2 separate regions of the Homo sapiens genome follow, and region 1 is linked to region 2. The links are contacts of gene promoters, found by promoter capture Hi-C in human tissues and cell types (Jung and others, 2019). All regions are on one chromosome and are shown on one strand. The core of a region is centred on a gene start or on the middle of the fragment in contact, and the rest is flanking DNA. Distances in the headings are between cores, read along the strand shown.

Region 1 (2,700 bases), core at 152-2,651, 370 kb before region 2:
TTAGATTTTAAAGGAAAATAAAAAAGTTTCTTGGACATCTAGGATTTAAGATAATAAAATGTGATCCAAGAATTTTATATCAAGCAAAAGTGCCTTCCAAATATAAAGGCACAAACACACTACTAACATCAGGTAAGAATTCTGTGGGTATTGTTTCCATGAGTACTACTGAGGTATCTATCAGAGAATAAGCTTCACAAAACCAAAATGTCTATAGAGACAATGTTGTAAGGATATGTATTGAGCATTAACTATTGCAGAACAAAGATAATATGATGTTTAAAAGAAAGACAGTACAGTTTATAATGGTTATATGATCTGTCAATGTTCACCTCCTAAAAGGCAAAGAATGATAGGAACATATGAAAAAAATGTTTAACTGGTTTTCAGTAAAACAGTTGAAGTGTATTTAGTGTTGCTATCCTGAGACCAATGTGTGTATATTGTTGGGTAAAACAAATTAATAATTATATTCTAATTATTTCTTTTTTTTTCGAGAACCACAATTCTCAGAGTAGAAGAAAGGAAACAGAGATATAATAGAGAGAGGTTATAGTACAAACCCTACAGCGCAAGTGGAATGGTCTTTTATTTGAATTGGAAATATCAATATGAACTTATGAGATGTGATACACACACAGACACAATGTGTGTTTGTTTTCCATCTTTGTCCACCGAAAAGGCCTAGGAAGTGACTAGCCCAGTACACAGCCCTAGTACCATGATCATAATCTTTGAATATCATTTACTGCTAACAGAAACCTGGACTTCTTTGAAAAAGAGCAGATTACAGTATGCAATGGAAAATGCACAAGGTGAGACTGAAATATCTTCCTATACCAAAAAGCAAGGAAATTATCAAAGACCACTAATACCATGTCAAAAAGATTCAGAGGTCAACTTGAGGTTCCTACTGGCCAAAGATGGGGCAGTTTGAGCTTCAATGTGATTAAAAATTGCAGTGATTTGAAAGCCATCAAATATGTTGAAATCCAGGAGTTCTTACTGATTTTTTTTTAAACTGGTTGACTTTGGAGGATGAAAGGAAAACAATTTATTATCGTGAAAACTGATAAACAGATGGAAAGAATTAAGCTTTATCCTGTCTTTACTCTTTGAAGGCTTCTACTAGATAATTGAAGAAGAGGTAAGGGAAAGTGTCTCTTTATAAAAGTATTCCAACTAGCAAATGAGAAAAAAACTATAAATTGGAATTACTTAGCAAGCCTGGCTCATTTACAAAATCATGAGATATAAAAAAATGGCTATTGTTCTAAGCCACTAAATTTTGGGAGTAGTTTGTCATGCAGTATTAGATAATTGAAACATATCCAAATATTTTCTACATTTTTGTCTTGAGTGTACCAATTCTTCCAGTTAAAATTAAAATGTTTTCTTTTTTCTATCTTAAAATCCCTATACTCAAAAACTGCCTGAAAATCTTATGCTCTTTTTGTCAAGTTTTGAGTAGTTCAGTCTAAAAATCACCTTTTAATATACTTTGTGTCCTTACATTTTCTCTATCTTCTTTTACAGAATAATTATTTCCCACAATAGTGTCTAATTCTTCTTTCTCAGGAGTGTAAATGAGATTAAAGGCATCTCTTCTTTAGAAATAGCTACTGAATCATAGAAAAGCATCATTATTTCTAATTTTTGTTAAAGGGCTTTATGGGATTAAACATGGCCATTAAGAGAAACTTCCTAGAATATAGACCATAAAATAGAATTTTGTCAGCAGGGCAACTCAAATGTGGTTAGAATAAGATATTGCTTCAAGGGTCCCTATGGGGATAGAATTCACCTTTCTTTTATTCTTTTTCTATTCTTTTATTATTGTTATTATTTTAGACAGGGTCTCACTCTCACCCAGGCTGGAGTACAGTGATCATGGCTCACTGTAGCCTCGACCTTCCCAGACTCAGGAGATCCTCCCATCTCAGTCCCCTGAGTAGCTGGGACTAATGTTGCACACCACCACATCCAGCTAATTTTTGTATTTTTTCTAGAGATGGTGTCTCGCTCTGTTGCCCAGGTTGGCTTTGAACTCCTGGACTCAAGCAATCCTCTTACCCCAGCCTCCCAAAGTGTTGGGATTACAGGTGTGAGCCACCATGCCCCACAGAATTCACTTTTTAAATTAAAGTACTTATGTATGGCTGCAAGAATCATTTTAATTACCTGTTAGTTTTTAATGGGCTCAGTGAAAATGTTTGATAGAATCCTCAAATTTCTTAAATAGGAGAAAAGACTGTGGGAATTTTATTGTTATTTCTTTTTGCTTCATACTTACCAAAATAAAACCATGAAGCAATTTGAGGAAGGAGCAGCCCTTCCAAAATTGAACTGAATTGATTAAGAAACCAAACAAAAAAACGAACAGCAACAGAGATTAAAAATGAGATTTGTAAACTTGGATCCTTTCTTAACTTGGTATCTTAGAAATGTAAACCACACCTGGTTGGTAATGGAAACTTGTGTAAACTAATCTTGCCTCCCACACATGAATATAAAATGGAAAAGACAAGATACCAAGTCATAAAACTAAAAAACAACTTTCTTCCTTGGTAACAAGAAAGTAAGCCAAATATTACCAATTCGTAAGCAAATACTTCTTTAAGTAGAGTAATGATTCTTAATTTGGGAAGGTAGAGGGCATGGTTATAAATCTCTCTTAGGAATCCAAATTTTAAAAAGTCA
Region 2 (2,700 bases), core at 86-2,585:
ATTAAAGGGTGCGGGGATCTTTAACCGCGGGGCTTCCCGCGCACTGGGAAAGGGCAGTTTTGTTTCTGTCTCAGTTTTCAGGCTTCTGTCACCTTCCTAACTTGCCTCATCCGAGTCACTGTAATGGGAATGGGGGGAAAATTCCCCGTCGCTTCTGTGGGACCGAGGCGAAGTTTTGCTGTTTTCCTCCTGCACTGGCTGCAAGATGCTCCCGGGGAGAGAAGGAGACAAATTCTTTTGCGCCATCATCGCTGTCAGGGCGCTGTCCTCGAAAGTCGAGAAGTGCAGAGCGTCCAGCTGCACCGAGTACCCTCCCGCAGAAGCTGGGGCTGAGAAGCGAGTCCGGCAACTCCCGGGCGGGGTCGGCCGCTGGCTCCCTCCGGAAGCCTGCTGAGCCCCAGCTGCGGTCGCGTTGCCCGCGCCCCCTTCATAGGAGGCCGCGGTGCGAAGGTGGTGGTGGTCGCTTTTGCAGGAGGCTGGAGGCGGCGGTGGCTGTTCCCCTCCGCTGGGCGTTTGTAGCAGCTCGGACAAGGCGTTGATGTAGATTTGGGCCATCTGCAGGGTCTCATATTTGGACAGCTTCTTGTCGTTGTTGAACGACGGGATAACATTGCGCAGCTGGTCGAAGGCGTGGTTCAGCCCATGCATCCTGCGCCGCTCCCTGGCGTTGGCTGCTAGCCGTCTCTGCTTCTGCACCCCATTCACCTGTTTGCTGGAAGGGGCCCGTTGGCGGCTGCAGCCCAGCTCGTCTACCACCACCCCGCCTTTCAGCTTGCACAGCTGTTCCCGCACTTTCACCGGCCCGGGGCTCTTGCTGCTGCTGGCACCGCCGCTGCTCCTCCTTACCAGCTCCCCCCGGCCGTCCACCTCGTCCCGGGGCGCAGCGGCCTCTGAGGCACCCAGCTCCGGGGAATGTAGCAAATACTGGGCGGCGCGTGCCGTGCAGATGCCCTGCAAAGTGGGAGCCAGCCAGGCGCGTGGGTCGGTGCTGTCCAGGAGGGACAGCTCAGGCGGGTAGACGGGATGCTCTCTCGCCTGCAAAGTTGCAGGTGGCTGCGGCGGCGGCGGCGGTTGCGGGAGATGATGCGGCTGGGGCTGGCGATGGTGGTCTCCCAACTCCTTCACTTCAGCCCACTCTTCTGCATGCAGCAGGCGGGACATTGCACTGCAAAGGCTCGGAGGCTCAGGATCGGAGGCAGCACTGGGACACCAGCTCAACCAAAAAAAAGGCCCTTTCCGGGTCTCTTCTGCAACGTCTTATTTTTTTTTCCCTCCTCGACCCTCCCCCACCCACTCGGAGATCACACACCAGGTCGCGTGCAACTATGCTTCTCCGGTTGCTGAAGGCGCTGCGCCCCTTTAAAAAGCGGCACGCGCCACTCAGTCTCCCCCCGCTCCTCTCCCAACCCCCTCCTCGCGCCGGTCGCGTGTCTTCTCAGCCAATGGAGGGCGCGGGCAGGCGCGTGCGAGCAGCCAATCAAAGAGTTTTTACACCCCGAGAAAAGTTCTTGTGTGCAGAGGACTCCCAAGCCTGCTCAGGTTTTTTTTTTTTTTTCCTTCTTTTAAATTCGTCAGATTCATATGTTAATTGCAGGGCTGTAATTCGACTCCGGTGTGTGTCACCACCCCGGCGGCTGGGGTGCGGGAGCGGTGCGGAGCCGGCTCTCGGCTGGTGCCCAAGCTGACTCGGGTCAGATGTGCACGACCGCGGGCGGCTCTGGGCGATTCTGGACCCGCCAGGCGCCCAGAAGCCACTCAAAGCAGAGAGAAGGCCGCCTACCCTGTGCTGCCCCCAAGCTAGGATCACAGCTCCCACTTCTGATGCCCAAGCATTTACGATTTCTCATGTATAATAGGATGTTTGTATTTATGTATGCAGGTATTTATAAATCTCTCATGCATGTTCATAGATATATAACTGCTACATGACGTCCATCATTTAAGATTGCTGTTGGAATAAAGGGGGAAAACCCACTCGTCTCAGAGTATGTTTCTTACTTTTGCTCCATCTTTTCATTTTTTACTTCAGATCTCTTAGTTCGACTTCGTCATATGATCTTTTTCTTAATGGAAAATAGAGCTGCGGTGTAGTGATAGCACACCAAATTCCAGATCCCCCAATTCTCTCTGTCCCCTTTCCCCAGCACCCTGCGGCCAATTAGGATTGTAATCTGCCTAAATCTCTCCGTTGAGTGTAATTTAGGGCCAGAATATTTTACGGTATTATGCAGAGTTTCAACACACACAGTAGGACTCCTCATTAAATGCCCAGCCAGGGGAGGGTGCCCAAAGTAAAATGAAAGGCGCCTGCATTCCCTGCAATCCTTAACACTTTCAAGGCACAGAAGTCCCAAGTTACCTACCCTTTTGCCTCGATCGCCCTCTCTTTACTGCGGGCTCGTGGCTTCCTCAGTTTAACCTCCTCCCGCCCCTCCGTTTAGTTAGGGTGGGCTTCCCCTTTCCAGCCCCCACCCCCACCCCACTCCGCCCCATACAATCAGGGAGGTCCTTGGCAAGGGGGGGAGGCCAATTCCCAGGTGAACGCCCCCTCCGGTCCTATTAGCCTCGGCCTAGTCTATTCACAGCAAAGAGCCAATCAGAAGCTCATTGGCCCTGGGCGCGCCCCAGCTTGCGCCCAGCGCGCCCTGGCTCTGGCTCCGGGCGCTCTCCTGCACCGCCCCTGGGGCGCGGGAGTGCGAT

What was found. Contacts are between HindIII fragments. The study calls those that stand out against the background at their distance.
Region 1: a fragment that was not itself captured here is called in contact with the fragment with the promoter of ATOH1 in region 2 in 2 of the 25 tissues and cell types used here (H1 embryonic stem cells and hippocampus).

What each region holds. Positions count from the first base shown.
Region 1 is chr4:94,199,302-94,202,001 of GRCh38, reverse strand. All of the region lies in intron 1 of SMARCAD1-DT (SMARCAD1 divergent transcript), which reads left to right. Among named protein-coding and RNA genes, the nearest start is that of SMARCAD1-DT, 6.9 kb to the left of the region's middle. The HindIII fragment of the contact is 3,236 bases long and covers 1-2,700 here.
Region 2 is chr4:93,827,388-93,830,087 of GRCh38, reverse strand. It overlaps ATOH1 (atonal bHLH transcription factor 1), which reads right to left and starts at 1,335. Exons shown (of 1, transcript NM_005172.2): 1 at 1-1,335. The coding sequence starts at 1,161. The coding sequence ends at 97. RefSeq lists an enhancer at 2,513-2,700. The HindIII fragment of the contact is 12,246 bases long and covers 1-2,700 here.